Linked DNA regions of Homo sapiens: region 1 is linked to region 2. The links are contacts of gene promoters, found by promoter capture Hi-C in human tissues and cell types (Jung and others, 2019). All regions are on one chromosome and are shown on one strand. Each heading gives the region's core, a stretch centred on a gene start or on the middle of the fragment in contact. The rest is flanking DNA. Distances are from core to core; before and after follow the strand shown. Region 1 overlaps TNFAIP8L1 (TNF alpha induced protein 8 like 1). Region 2 holds the start of SHD (Src homology 2 domain containing transforming protein D).

Region 1 (7,132 bases), core at 4,458-6,957, 380 kb before region 2:
CAGGCCAGGCGCGGCGGTTCACGCCAGTAATCCCAGCAATTTGGGAGGCTGAGGCAGGAGGATTGCTGGAGGCCAGGAATTTGATTCCAGCCTAGGCAACATAGCAAGACCCTATATCTACCAAAAGTAAAAAAAAAATAGCCAGGCGTGTTGGCATGCACCCATAGTCCCACCTACTCAGGAGGCCGCAGCAGGAGGATCACTTGAGTCCAGGACTTTGAAGCTGCAGTGAGCTATGATTGCACTGCTGCATTCCAGCCTGGACAGTAGAGTGAGGTCCTGGCTCAAAAACAAAAAAGTCTCCTCTCCATCTCTAGTAAAAGTAGAAAGCTTTAGTCTGTGCTTCTCTGGAAAGCAAACTCAATCGTTTTCCTAATGATGAGCATTGAACTGGCCCTGGTAAAGTTTCCACTCATTCTTTTTCAGTCTAAAGCCGCATTTGAAAGGGAAAGTGATGTCCCTCTGAAAACTGAGGAATTTGAAGTGACCAAAACAGCAGGTACGGAAAGATGGGGATGGGGTAGAGGTGACGCCACCCCCATCCAAGGGTGGGCAATCGGGGCAGTTTGGAGAGGGGGGTCAGCCATAGGGGTCCTGGAGACTGTAGACCAGGCATCCACAAACTGATTCTATAAAGGCCACCTCGTCAATATCTTCAGCTTTGTGGCACTGTGGGTTCTGTCTAGAGCTGTGCCATTGTGGCACAAAGCTGCTGCAGACAGTATGTCCATGCGTGGGTGTGGCTGTGTGCCACTAGAACTTTATCTTAGCTGGGCGCGGTGGCTCATGCCTGTTACCGCAGCTGCTCAGGAGGCTAAGGTGGGAGGATCATTGGAGCCCAGGAGGTCAAGACCAGCCTGGGCAACATAGCGAGACCCTGTCTCTACAAAATTTTTTTAAAAATCAGGCTGGGTGCGGTGGCTCACGCCTGTAATCCCAGCACTTTGGGAGGACGAGGCGGGCGGAACACTTGAGGTCAGGAGTTCCAGACCAGCTGGCCAACATAATGAAACCCCATCTCTACTAAAAATGCAAAAAATTAGCCAGGCGTGGTGGTGCGCACCTGTAATCCCAGCTATTCAGGAGAATTGCTGGAACCTGGGAGGTGGAGGTTGCAGTGAGCTGAGATCATGCCACTGCACTCTAGCCTGGAAGACAGCAAGATTCTGTCTCAAAAAGAAAAAAAATTAGCCGGGCATGGTGGTGTGTACCTGTAGTCTCAGCTACTTAGGAGGCTGAGGTGGGAGGATTATTTGAGCCCAGGAGGTCGAGGCTGCATTGAGCTATGATCGCACCACTGCACTCCAGCCTGGGCATCAGAGTAAGACTCTGTCTCAAAAACAATAAACAGGGCTGGGCATGGTGGCTCACACCTGTAATCCCAGCACTTTGGGAGGCCAGGAGTTCCAGACCAGCCTAGCCAACATGGTGAAACCCCTTCTCTACTAAAAATACCAAAATTAGCCAAGGATGGTGGCACATGCTTGTAATCCCAGCTACTCAGGAGGCAGAGACAGGAGAATCTCTTGAACTTAGGAGCAGGAGGTTGCAGTGAGTCGAGACTGCACCACTGCACTCCAGCCTAGGCAACAGAGGAAGACTCTCATCTCAAAAAAAATAATAAATTTTAAAAAATAAATAAATGAAATAAAACAAAGTAGAAACCATCAGGGCTTTGAGGTTGGGACTGTGGCATGCCGAGGGGAGGCTGCAGGGGTCACTGGGAAACATCAGGGTCCTTCTTCGGTTGCCTGAGCAGCACCGGTGTCCTCAAGCCACATTCAGCTGCATGGCGCCAATGCTAAGCAGAAAGAGGAATCGGAGGCGCCGAGCTGGGGCAAGGGTGGGAGCCAAGGGAGTGGACACAGCAGGTAGGGCCGGGAGACTTGGGTGAAGCAGTGGAAGCCAGAGTTCTGACCCTGCTGGAGAAGTGTCATGAGGGCCTCAGACAGGTTCACCCACTGAGCAGGAGGTCTTGCAGCCTGACCCACCCTGCATCCTGTTCAGGCCGGGATCATCTCCTTCCTGGGCTTCTTCTGGCCCCTTTCTGCATCTCTTCTTGACAACATGGCACAAATGACCAGGGTTCTTCCCACCTCAGGTCTTTCTGTGGCTTCCTGCTGCCTGCCATCTATGTTAGCCCCACCGACCTTACCCTCCACATCACTGTTTTCCTGTCTGTCACCCGTAAGACTTTCAGTGCCTGGGGCCTTTTCACATGGGAGTCTGCTTTGGAGACTGCTCCCCTTGCCTGCTTAGCCCCCACCATGGGCCCCACCCCAAATCCTCCGGACTTCTGAGAATTTTCAATGTTGAGGGCCCAACCATGTGTTTCTTTCTTGCAGTGGCTCACAGGCCCGGGGCATTCAAAGCTGAGCTGTCCAAGCTGGTGATTGTGGCCAAGGCATCGCGCACTGAGCTGTGACCAGCAGCCCTGTTGCGGGTGGCACCTTCTCATCTCCGGTGAAGCTGAAGGGGCCTGTGTCCCTGAAAGGGCCAGCACATCACTGGTTTTCTAGGAGGGACTCTTAAGTTTTCTACCTGGGCTGACGTTGCCTTGTCCGGAGGGGCTTGCAGGGTGGCTGAAGCCCTGGGGCAGAGAACAGAGGGTCCAGGGCCCTCCTGGCTCCCAACAGCTTCTCAGTTCCCACTTCCTGCTGAGCTCTTCTGGACTCAGGATCGCAGATCCGGGGCACAAAGAGGGTGGGGAACATGGGGGCTATGCTGGGGAAAGCAGCCATGCTCCCCCCGACCTCCAGCCGAGCATCCTTCATGAGCCTGCAGAACTGCTTTCCTATGTTTACCCAGGGGACCTCCTTTCAGATGAACTGGGAAGAGATGAAATGTTTTTTCATATTTAAATAAATAAGAACATTAAAAAGCAACCCCACAGCCTGGGCCCTCCCGGCTGGCCGTTGCGGGTCAGGAGCTCAGACGCGGCTGACACTGCCCCACCGTGGGCGGGTGGGCGGTGTCTCTGGGTGGGACTTCTCTGCAGGCATCAAAGCGCTAGATCCCAAGGTGGCTGTATGTGAACTTGCCCCCTTCCCCCCTTGGCACTCGCTGTCCCTGGGTCCCCCACATGTTGTGAATTCACACCCGGGTTTCTGTGGCTGCCACAGGCCCCAGCGCGGGAGGATGTTCCAAGGCCGACCTGCTCTCTGCAGCCTGGGGCATTGGTTTCCCTTAGTTTGTTTTTCTTTTGAGACAGGGTCTTCTCCTGTCACCCAGGCTGAAGTGTAGTGGTGTAACACGGCTCACTGCAACCTCCACCTCCTGGGCTCAAGCGATCTTGCCACCTCAGCCTTCCAAGTAGCTGGGACTACAGGCACACGCCACCATGCCCGGCTAATTTTTGCATCTTCTTTTGATAGAGACAGCGTTTTGCCATGTTGCTCAGGCTGGTTTCGAACTGAGCTCAAGCAATCCACCTGTCTCGGCCTCCCAAAGTGCTGGGATTACAGGCATGAGCCACTGTGGCCAGCCTCCCGTAGTTTTTTGAAGCTGGGTTGCAACAGTGACTAAAAAACAAAAACAGACCAGACAGGATGGTTTACGCCCGTGAATCCCCGCACTTCGGGAGGCCAAGGTGGGAGAATCTCTTGACACCAGGAGTTCAAGACCAGCTTAGGCAACATAGCAAGACCCCCATCTCTACCAAAAAATAAATAATTTTAAAATTAGCCAGGTGTGGTGGGGCACACCTGTAATCCCAGCCACTCAGGAGCCTGAGGCAGGAGAATCGCCTGAACCCAGGAGTCCAAGGCAGCAGTGAGCCAAGATCGCGCCACTGCAGTCCAGCCTGGGCCACAGAGTGACACCTTGTCTCAAAAGAAAAAGAACCAGCCAGCCTTGACTTCCCAGCACACACTTGATGCCACCACATGAGGAAAGGACTGACGGCCGCACACATCAGCGGGAAGGGCCCCTAGACCAAGAATGGCAGTGCTCTGAGGTCTGAAGACCCCCCCGCCAAGGCCAGGAGGCTTTCCAGCTCTTGACTCTGAGGCTCCACGGGGCCCAGAAGATGAGCACGACAGGGTTGCCAGGGCCTCCTGTGCAGAAAAGGCCGTGGGAAACAGTGCCTACCACCAGTACCCTGGCCAAGGTAGGGGGACTCTCTCCTGGTCAGCTGGGATTCGCCCACAGCTTCTGGATCCCTGGCTGTCATCAAGGATGATGCCCGGGTGGCCTGATGCACCAGCATACATCAGGGCATCTCGGGACACACAGGAGCTTCCCCTCTGACCTTACGTGTGCATATGTGTGCTTTTTTTTTTTTTTTTTGGACAGGATCTTGCTCCATCACCCAGGCTGGAGTGCAGTGGTGCGATCTCGGCTCACCGCAGCCTCAACCTCCTGGGTCCAAGCCATCCTTCCAGATAGCTGGGACCACATGTGCATGCCACCCTGACTGGCTATAATTTTTTATTTTTTTATTCTGTTTCTGAGACCAAGTCTCACTCTGTTGCCCAGGCTGGAATGCAGTGGCACGATCTCATCTCACTGCAACCTCCGCCTCCCAGGTTCAAGTGATTCTCCTGCCTCAGCCTCCCAAGTAGCTGGGATTACAGGCACCCGCCGCCATGCCCAGCTAATTTTTGTACTTTTTAGTACAGATGGGGTCTCACCATCTTGGCCAGGCTGGTCTTGAACTCCTGACCTCAGGTGATCTGCCTGCCTCAGCCTCCCAAAGTGCTGGGATGACAGGCGTGAGCCACTGCACTTGGCCTTATATATATATATTTTTAGAGATAGGGTCTCGCTATGTTGCCCAGGGTGGTCTTGAACTCCTTGGCTCAAGTGATCCTCCTGCCTCGGCCTCCCAAAGCACTAGGTTTAACTGACATGAGCCACTGCGCCCAGGCTGGTGTGTGCTTTTATTTAAATTGTTCCGCAGTCCTATTTGGTTTGTTTCCTTTAATTAAATCTCAAATTTACAAGAGTCCAGACTGTCTGGACAGCCCAACAGGGACACAGAGAGTTTTACACACTGATGTCTCAACAGCACAGGGTTCCATCGGGACTTCGTGAGAAAATCAGGATCCATGTACGTTCTTGAAGAGCTGTCTCTCGGCCTAAGATAAGTGGAGAAGGTTGCCTTGGAAGCGTGGGGTAGAGGTAGGAACAGCTGGCTCTCTGGCCAAGGCCTTTGGCTTTTTCGCGGAAGCAAAAACCGAACCACGGGAAGGCTGCTCCGAGTCTGGGGTCAGAATTTCCTATCAGTGAGTGCAGCAGGCCAGGGAGAGGCGAAAGGGAGTGGAGAGGACTGTGGTGAAAGGGAGAGGGGCGGCCCCTGCACAGCTTCACCAGGCGTCAGTGCAGGCTCAGACGGCCGGACTGGCGAGTTTTCAAGAGAAACTCCAAATCCAGACAGGTGTGTGTGATCTCTTGGTTTTAAATGCAGACAAATTCCAAATGTCTCAAATACTGAATGGAGCCAGCTAGACCTACCTTCTCACCAAGTAAGGCCCACAGGCCCCTGCCGCAACCTCTACCCTCCACAGACAAGGTTCTGCAAAACAGTCATGGGACCTTGTTTCACCTCCCCCACAGGCACCCAAAATAACCTTCCTGACCTGCAGCAGCATTTTGCAATCTTTGAGAACCCCTGCCCCCTGCTGACAAACAAAAATGGCAAATAGACTCCCCCACACCACGCCTCCACGCCCTGAGCTGAGAATCGCCCGCATCTCGTGGGTGGTACCAGAGCCAAGACGACAGCCAAGCTTTGCTTTCTCAGCTCTGTCTTATAAAAGCAACATGGTTGGCTGGTTGGTTGCTGATTCTCCAAATATGAAATCACGATATTACAATGTGCACACTTTGTGAGGCCGAGGTAGGTAGGTCGCTTGAGCCCAGGAGTTCGAGACCATCCTGGGCAACATGGTGAGACCTTCTGTCTACAAAAAATACAAAGATTAGCCGGGTGTGCTCGTGCACACCTGTAGTCCCAGCTACCCGGGGCTGAGGTGGGAGGATCACTTGAGCCTGGAAGGAAGGGGCTGCAATGAGCCGAGATTTCACCACTGCACTCCAGCCTGGGTGACACAGCGAGACTTTGTCTCAAAACAATAAATAAATAAAATGTGCACACATCTCAGGTGGGTCCCCCCTCACCCCTGGGAGGTGGGCACGCTCCGTCCCCTCCCATGTGGCAGTCCCTGGATTGGAGCAGTTTCCCCTCCCGACCCAGGGCAGAGGTCTCCAGCTTCACGGAGGCATCCTGGCTGAACGTGCCAGCATTCACTGGAGCCTTCTTGAGTGGGGGCTTCCAGTACCACATCCTGTGGACTGAGGGGCTTCACGCACATTTATTCTCATTCAGTTCTCTGGGCCGCAAGTCTGAGATGAAGGTGTGGCCAGGGCTAGGTCCCTCCAAGGCTGAAGGGGATCTGCCCTGGGCCTCTCCCAGCTCCTGGTGGTGGCCGGCATCATTGGCCTTCCTTGCATGCATGTCTGTGTCCAAATACTTTTTTTTTTCTTTCTAAGACAGAGTCCCACTCTCACCCAAGCTGGAGTGCAGTGGCATGATCATCGGTCACTGCAGCCTCTTAACTCCTGGGCTCAAGTGATCTTCCCTCGTCATCTCTCAAGTAGCTGGGATTATACGTGTGCACCACCACAGTCACTTTTTTTTTTTTTTTTTTTTTTTTTTTTGAGACGAGTCTCGCTCTGTCACCAGGCTGAAGTGCAGTGGTGCAATCTCGGCTCACTGCAACCTCCGCCTCCCTGCAACCTGCGCCTCCCAGGTTCAAGCGATTCTCCTGCCTCAGCCTCCCAAGTAGCTGGGACTACAGGCACGCAACACCATGCCCGGCTAATTTTTGTATTTTTAGTAGAGACGGGGTTTCACCATGTTGGCCAGGATGGTCTCGATCTCTTGACCTTGTGATCTGCCCGCCTCAGCCTCCCAAAGTGCTGGGATTACAGGTGTGAGCCACCACGCCCGGCCCACCACGATAATTTTTTTTTTGTAGAGACGAGGGTCTCACCATGTTGCCCAGACTGGTCTTGAACTTCTGAGTTCAAGCAATCTTCCTGCCTCGGCCTCCCAAAGTGCTGGAATTAGAGTAGTGAGCCACTGCACGTGGCCTCAATCCCCCACTCCCCCGCTTCTTTTTTTGAGACA
Region 2 (7,105 bases), core at 1,557-4,056:
CTGGCTTCCCACGTCTCCCTCTGTCTTGATCCCATTTCCCCAGCACAGACACCTGCCTCCCTCCTTCGCCCACTTCAGTGCTTCTCCGTGCACTATTGTCAAGGATTTACCTGTGTTGATTTGTAATACCAACATGTAATAAGTACACCATTCCCCTTTTCCAGACAAGGAAGCCAAGGCACAGAGACAGTAAGTGTTTTGCTTAGGGACACACAGCTGGTAAGTAAGAGGCCGAGTCTGATCCCGGCTGACTGGTTTCCTCGAGTCCCTGGCTCTTCTTACCAACGTCTTACTTCTTATTTATTTATTTATTGAGACAGAGTCTCGCTCTTGTCACCCAGGCTGGAGTGCAGTGGCGCGATGTTGGCTCACTGCAACCTCCACCTCCTGGGTTCAAGCAATTCTCCTGCCTCAGCCTCAGGAGTAGCTGGGATTATAGGCGCACGCCACATCGCCTGGTTAATTTTTGCATTTTTGGTAGAGATGGGGTTTCACTGTGTTGGCCAGGCTGGTCTGGAACTCCTGACCTCAGGTGATCCACCTGCCTTGGCCTCCCAAAGTGCTGGGATTACAGGTGTGAACCACCACACCCAGCCTTTTTTTTTTTTTTTTTTTTTTTTTTTGAGACAGGGTGTTGCTCTGTCACCCAGGTTGGAGTGCAGTGGCGCAATCATGACTCACTGCAGCTTTGACCTTCTAGGCTCAAGTGATCCTCCTGCCTCAGCCTCCTGAGTAGCTGGGACTATGGTGTGCACCACCACAACTAGCTAATGTTTTGATTTTTTTTTTGTAGAGACAAGGTCTCACTCTGTTAGCCCGGGCTGGTCTCGAACTCCTGGGCTCAAGCAATCCTCCCACCTCGACCTCCCAAAGTGCTGGAATTACAGGCATGAGCTACTGCACCCGGTGGCCTGGGTTCAAATCCTAGTAAGCTAGAACCCCGTGAGACCTTAGCCAAGTCACTACCGTTCTGCGAGCCTCAGTTTCGCTTCTGTAAAACGGGAACATAGTGGTAGGAAGGGCAGCATCACCGGGAGGATATTTAGGTGCCCAGCAGGGGAGCAACTCACTCAGATCTATTTTAGGAAGATCCCACCAGGTTCCAAGAGGAAGGGGTGCTGAGGGGAGGGGGCTGGGGGACTGCAGGGGATGACCATGGAGGAGGAGGAGGACCCGGAGACCAAGCAGGGTGGTCAGAGAGGCAGAAGGACAACCAGCATTATGCATTGAAAAGGGACAGATATCCACCGGGCGCAGTGACTCACACCTGTAATCCCAGCACTTCGGGAGGCAGAGGCGGGAGGATCACCTGAGGTCAGGAGTTTGAGTCCAGCCTGGCTAACATGGTGAAACCAGTCTCTACTGAAAATACAAAAATTAGCCGGGTGTGGTGGCACACACCTGTAATCTCAGCTACTGGAGAGGCTGAGGCAGGAGAATCGCTTGAACCCCAGGAGGTGGAGGTTGCAATGAGCCGAGATCCCACCACTGCACTCCAGCCTGGGTGACAGGGGGAGACTGTCTCAAAATAAATAAATACATAAAAAGAACAGACTTCCCCAAGCAGGTGGAGGTCTGGAGGACTGGGAAGGGTCTGTCTGGTGCCCCAGTCCCCTCCTGTGATCACACATAAAATAAGCTCTCCACGATCCAGAGAGCCCATCCTGAGCCTCCCCTCCACCCAGTCTCCCCAGGCCACCCAGCCACGCACCTCCTCCCCGGGGCCGCCCAGAAGGGCCTTGGCTCTGGCCATATCCGCAGCCTCCACCTTGATGAGCCGGTGCTTGGGAGAACCATACTTGGCATCTCCGGGGTTCTTGGAGTCCCCAGGGCCCGCGGGGTCCGGCTCCAAGCGGCTCTCCGCGTCCTCATAGGGGTCCTCGAAGTCCAGGTTCTTCTGCGCGCGGTAGGCCCTCAGGATGTCGCTCTCGGTGTAGTCCGGGGTGGGCGGCTGCGGAGGGGGCCTCCGACCCCCAAAGCTCAGGTAGTCCCGTAGCCACTTGGCCATTTGGGCGCCTGTCACCCCAATCGGGCCACTGTCAGAGGGGCCCCCACATGCCCTTCTCCGGGCCCCTTTCCCCAAGGAGGAGGAGGAGGTGGAGAGGAAGGGAAGAGCAGGGAAGGATGAGAAAGATCAGGTGCGCCCTTTGGCGGGGCTCTGGATGGATAGAGGGAAGGAAAAGGTGAACGAGGGGGAGGAAAAGGAGGCGACAGAGGAGGGAGGAAGAGAAGCCCGCCTTAGCCCAGCTTGGGAAGCACCGCGGGGGAAGGGGGGACCTCGCAGGGCCCCGAACCCCGCGCGCTGGGGGCTAGGGCGAGGGGCATCCGCGGAGGCGCGCGGAGTTTCCGCGGGCAGCGCGGTTCCCTGGAGCGACACGGCCGCCCGCCGCCTCCAGGAAGCTCCGGGATCCCTTCCTGGGGTCGGGAGATCCGGGCCAGCGCCACCTGCGGACGCTCCCGGCCCCTCTCCCAGCCCGGACGCCTGGGTTCTCAGCGCAGCGGGCGGGCTCCCCAGGGGCGCGGGCGCCGCGCGCAAAGTTGGGCCGCGGAGACTGTGACCCCGGCGGGACGCATCCTTTGTCGCGCTCCTCTCGGCTCAGCGGGGAGCCCCCAGTCCCGCGGCCCCCGCCGCCTCGATCCGGCCCCAGCCACCCGCACAAAGGGAAATAAAAACCTCCTCCAATCCCCCTTCACGCTTTCGGAGAGACTTTCCCCGCCGCCGCCGGGAGGTGGGACGCTGGGGAGGGGGGCGCGCAGGAGGACGCCCCTGTTCCCACCAGCCCCGGGCCGCGTCCCGGGCAGCAGCGTCAAGGCTCCCCCACCTCCCCTCCGCCGCGTCCCCCGCCCCTCCCCTCCCCCTGCGCTCCCCTCGGAGGTGACTGAGACCTTCAGCTGTTCTGGGGAGGGAGGGAGCCGCTGCCCGCGGAGGGAAGGGGGGCTGGGGGCGGGAGTCGCCGGGGCCGAGGCCGCGGCAGCTGGACACTGACCGGGACGCCCGAGACTGGCCGCAGCGAGCGCGGAGCGCGGGAGGTGGGGAGCAGCTGGGAGTGACACTGCTGGGGAGGGGAGGGGAGAGGGAGAAGGAGGGGAGGGGGAAATTGCCCGGGAAATGGGGGACTGCACTTGACCGCCAAAAGGGGTGAAATTGACCAGCAGAGGGGGTGGGAATGACCGCCAGTGAGGGTCGAAATGGAACCGATGTCTGGCGGTGAAACGGACCGGGAGAGTGGGGATGTGCAAATTGGTGGAGAGGTCACTGGCTGAAATTGATATTGGAGCAGCAGAAGGAAGAGGGGGGCAAAGGAAGGGTGGGTGCGGATCGGGCTTCCCCTCCCCCAAGAGGGCTCTGCTCTGTGCCCCGCTCCCGCCCCAGAGGACTAATTGCGGGCAGGGGGAGGGTTGGGGGCAGCTGGCTTGGGGAAGGGAGATGGTATCTGTGCCTGGCGCCTGTCCTCTGCATCTGTCCTTTTGTGGCTTCTGGGGGCGGGGTGGGGGGGAGCGGTGGCGGGAAGAGGGGCAGAAGTGAGAGGGGTCTGGCCTGAACTGGCTGCCTGTTGTCAGCTGTCGTTGTCTGAGGGTGAGGGCACTGAGAGGTTTGGGGGGTGGGAGAGGAAAAGGGAGCCACTGGCCAATTTTCCAGTGCAGAACCGTTTTTTTTCTTTCCCCATAAGGGGGCTTGCCCAGTTCCTCCTAATGAGGGGAGTGAGAGAGGGGTGGTCAGGAAGGATGGGACCCCAGATTCTCTCCTCTTGTGGCCAGCCCCCTGGTCAGGCACAGGTCATAGCTTGGAGAGCACAGTTGGAGGACAAGACAGAAGTCAGAACCAACACTGCTATGACTGGGGCCTCCTGGCAGCCCGGCGGGGCTGAGGGCAGGGTCTGTCACTCCCTGAGTCTTGGTTTTCCTTATTTGAAAGATGTGGTTTCTAACAGGAAATCCCAGACAGCTCTAGGAAGGATTCCAGGAGGGACCGAGCTATCACCTGGCTTCCTCATTTTATGGATGGGGAAACCGAGGCACAGAGATGGGAGGGACTTGTTCAGAGCCACTCCACAGCTGATTCTGCCTGCACATCGCCGTGGGGCCTGGCCTAGGGTGGCACTGGAGTCTCTCTTTTTATTTTTTTGAGACGGAGCCTTGCTCTGTCCTCCAGGCTGGAGTGCCGTGTTGCGATCTCAGCTCACTGAAACCTCCACCTCCCAGGTCCAACCAATTCTCCTGCCTCAGCCTCCTGAGTAGCTGGGATTACTGCCACCACGCCCAGCTAATTTTTATATAATTTTATATTTTTAGTAGAGATGGGGTTTCACCACATTGGCCAGGCTGGTCTGGAACTCCTGACCTCAGGTGATCTGCCGGCCTCGGCCTCCCAAAATGCTCTTCATGGAATCGGTTCTGCAACTCCTCTCCACGATGAGCTCCATTATCCAGATGGGAAAACTGAGGCCTGGAGCCAACAAGGCAAAGCCCCTGAAGGATGCAGGCGTCTAGACCCTTCTGTTCCTCCCCTTCCCTGCACTGGCTGTGTCCCCCAACACAGACCTGTTGAACTCCTTCCTCCCTCCTGAAGTGCATGGCCACCCCCGCTTCCCCCCACCCTTTCAGATCAGCGACAAGGCTGCGTCCCTGGGGGCGGCCAGGGAGCACAGCGGGTAATTGTCCTGCTTTCTGTCAGCCGCAAGGCAATTCCGGGCCACGGGGATGAGCTGTTGACAGATCTCATCAAATCCAAGTCGTCTCCCTGCCGGATAAAACTAGATGTCTGAGGTATAAATATTTGAAAGGGGCCTTCTAATTACAATCTGTGTCAGGAATAGCAATTAGAGGCCCCGGGGCCGGAATCAAACGGCATTTGACTTTCCTGTGCTTTGGAGCTGGCTTCTCCTGGGGCTGCACCCCGACCCTACCCCAAGGAGGGGAGTGGGGAGAGGCTGGCAGGGAGAGGCAGGAGGATTAGGTAGAAGAGAAAGAGATCCAGGCTAGGGGTCCAGTCACCTTCCCCTGTGACCTTGAATCAGCCACGTAACCTTGTGAGATTTGGATTTTTCTTTTCTCCCTTTTTTTTTTTTTTTTGAGACAGGGTCTCTCGCTCTGTTGCCCAGGCTGGAGATGCAATCACAGCTCACTGCAGCCTCACATTCAACATCCTGGGCTCAAATGATCCTCCCATCTCAGCCTCCTGGTAGCTAGGACCACAGGTGCATACCACAAAACCCGGCTTTTTTTTTGCTTTTTTTTTTTTCTTACGCAGAGTCTCACTTTGTTGCCCGGGCCTGGAGTGCAGTGGTGCGATCTCGGCTCACTGCAAGCTCCGCCTCCCGGGTTCACACCATTCTCCTGCCTCAGCCTCCCGAGTAGCTGGGACTACAGGCACCCGCCACCATGCCCGGCTACTTTTTTGTATTTTTAGTAGAGATGGGGTTTCACTGTTAGCCAGGATGGTCTCGATCTCCTGACCTTGTGATCCTCCCGCCTCAGCCTCCCAAAGTGCTGGGATTACAGGCGTGAGCCACCGAGTCCGGCCGCTTTTTTTTTTTGAGGCCGAGTCTTGCTCTGTCGCCCAGGCTAAAGTGCAGTGGCACAATTTCGGCTCACCGCAAGCTCCGCCTCCCAGGTTCAAGCGATTCTCCTGCCGCAGCCTCCCAAGTAACTGGGATTACAGACGCCCGCCACCACACCCAGCTAATTTTTATATTTTTAGTAGAGATGGTGTTCCACCATGTTGGCCAGGGTGCTCTCAAACTCCTGACCTCGTGATCCGCCCACCTTGGCGCCCCCAAAGTGCTGAGATTACAGGAGTGAGCTGCCATACACGGCCTTGTTGCTTTTTTTTTTTTTAAAGATACAATTCACATTGGCTGGGTGCAGTGACTCACACCTATAATCCCAGCACTTTGGGAGGCTGAGGTGGGCAGATGACCTGAGGTCAGGAGCTCGAGACCAGCCTGGCCAACATGGTAAAACCCCGTCTCTACTAAAAATACAAAAATTAGCCAGGCGTGGTGGCGGGCACCTGTAATCCCAGCTACTCGGGAGGCTGAGGCAGGAGAATCACCTGAACTCGGGAGGCAGAGGTTGCAGTGAGCCAAGATTGAGCCACTGCACTCCAGCCTGGGCAACAGAGCGAGACTCCATCTCAAAAAAACAAAAAACATAACTTACATATCCTACAGTTCACCCATTTAGAGTGTACAATTCAGTGGTTTCTCCTGTGTCCACAAGGTTGTGCGACCATCACCCCTAATTCCTGAACATTTTCGTCACCTCCAAAAGAAACCTCATACCCAATTAGCTGTCACTCCCCATCTCTCCAAATCCCCAGCTCCTGGTAAACACAAATCCACTTCCTGCCTCTGTGGATGGGCCTGTCCTGGACATTTCATAGAAATGGGATCACACACTTTGTGGCCTTCTGTGTCTGGTGTTTCTCACTGAGCGTGATGTCCTCAAGCTGCGTCCATTCTGGGGCCTGTGTTTTTTGTTGTTGTTGTTGTTTGTTTGTTTGTTTTTTTGAGACGGAGCTTGCTCTGTCACCAGGCTGGAGTGCAATGGCACGATCTCAGCTCACTGCAACCCCCGCCTCCCGAGTTCAAGTGATTCTCCTGCCTCAGCCTCCCGAGTAACTGGGACTACAGGCATGTGCCACCACGCCCAGCTGATTTTTGTATTTTTAGTGGAGACAGGGTTTCACCATGTTGGCCAGGATGGTCTCGATCTCTTGACCTCATGATCCACCCGCCTCGGCCTTCCAAAGTGCTGGGATTACAGGCGTGAGCCACCGCACCTGGCCAGGCCTGTGTTTTTTAATTTTTAAAATTCTTCTAGAGGGCTGGGTGTGGTGGCTCACACCTGTAATCCCGCCACTTGCAGAGGCTGAGTCGGGTGGATCACCTGAGGTCAGGAGTTCGAGACCATCCTGCCCAACATGGTGAAACCCCGTCTCTACTAAAAATACAAAAATTAGCCAGGCTTGGTGGCAGGCACATTGTAATCCCACCTACTCAGGAGGCAGAGATAGGAGAATCGCTTGAACCTGAGAGGCAGAGGTTGCAGTGAGCCGAGATCGTGCCACTGCACTCCAGCGTGGGCAATAGAGTGAGACTCC

Evidence for each region. The method cuts DNA at HindIII sites, captures the fragments that hold promoters and counts their contacts. A contact is called where the count stands out against the background at its distance.
Region 1: a fragment that was not itself captured here is called in contact with the fragment with the promoter of SHD in region 2 in 1 of the 25 tissues and cell types used here (lymphoblastoid cells).

What each region holds. Positions count from the first base shown.
Region 1 is chr19:4,653,298-4,660,429 of GRCh38, reverse strand. It overlaps TNFAIP8L1 (TNF alpha induced protein 8 like 1), which reads right to left. Exons shown (of 2, transcript NM_152362.3): 2 at 4,862-7,132. MYDGF (myeloid derived growth factor) reads left to right here. Exons shown (of 6, transcript NM_019107.4): 5 at 427-499; 6 at 2,346-2,885. The coding sequence ends at 2,425. Among named protein-coding and RNA genes, the nearest start is that of MYDGF, 13 kb to the left of the region's middle. RefSeq lists a silencer at 5,649-5,698. The HindIII fragment of the contact is 5,354 bases long and covers 3,031-7,132 here.
Region 2 is chr19:4,274,967-4,282,071 of GRCh38, reverse strand. It overlaps SHD (Src homology 2 domain containing transforming protein D), which reads right to left and starts at 2,806. Exons shown (of 6, transcript NM_020209.4): 1 at 1,712-2,806. The coding sequence starts at 2,008. The HindIII fragment of the contact is 14,506 bases long and covers 1-7,105 here.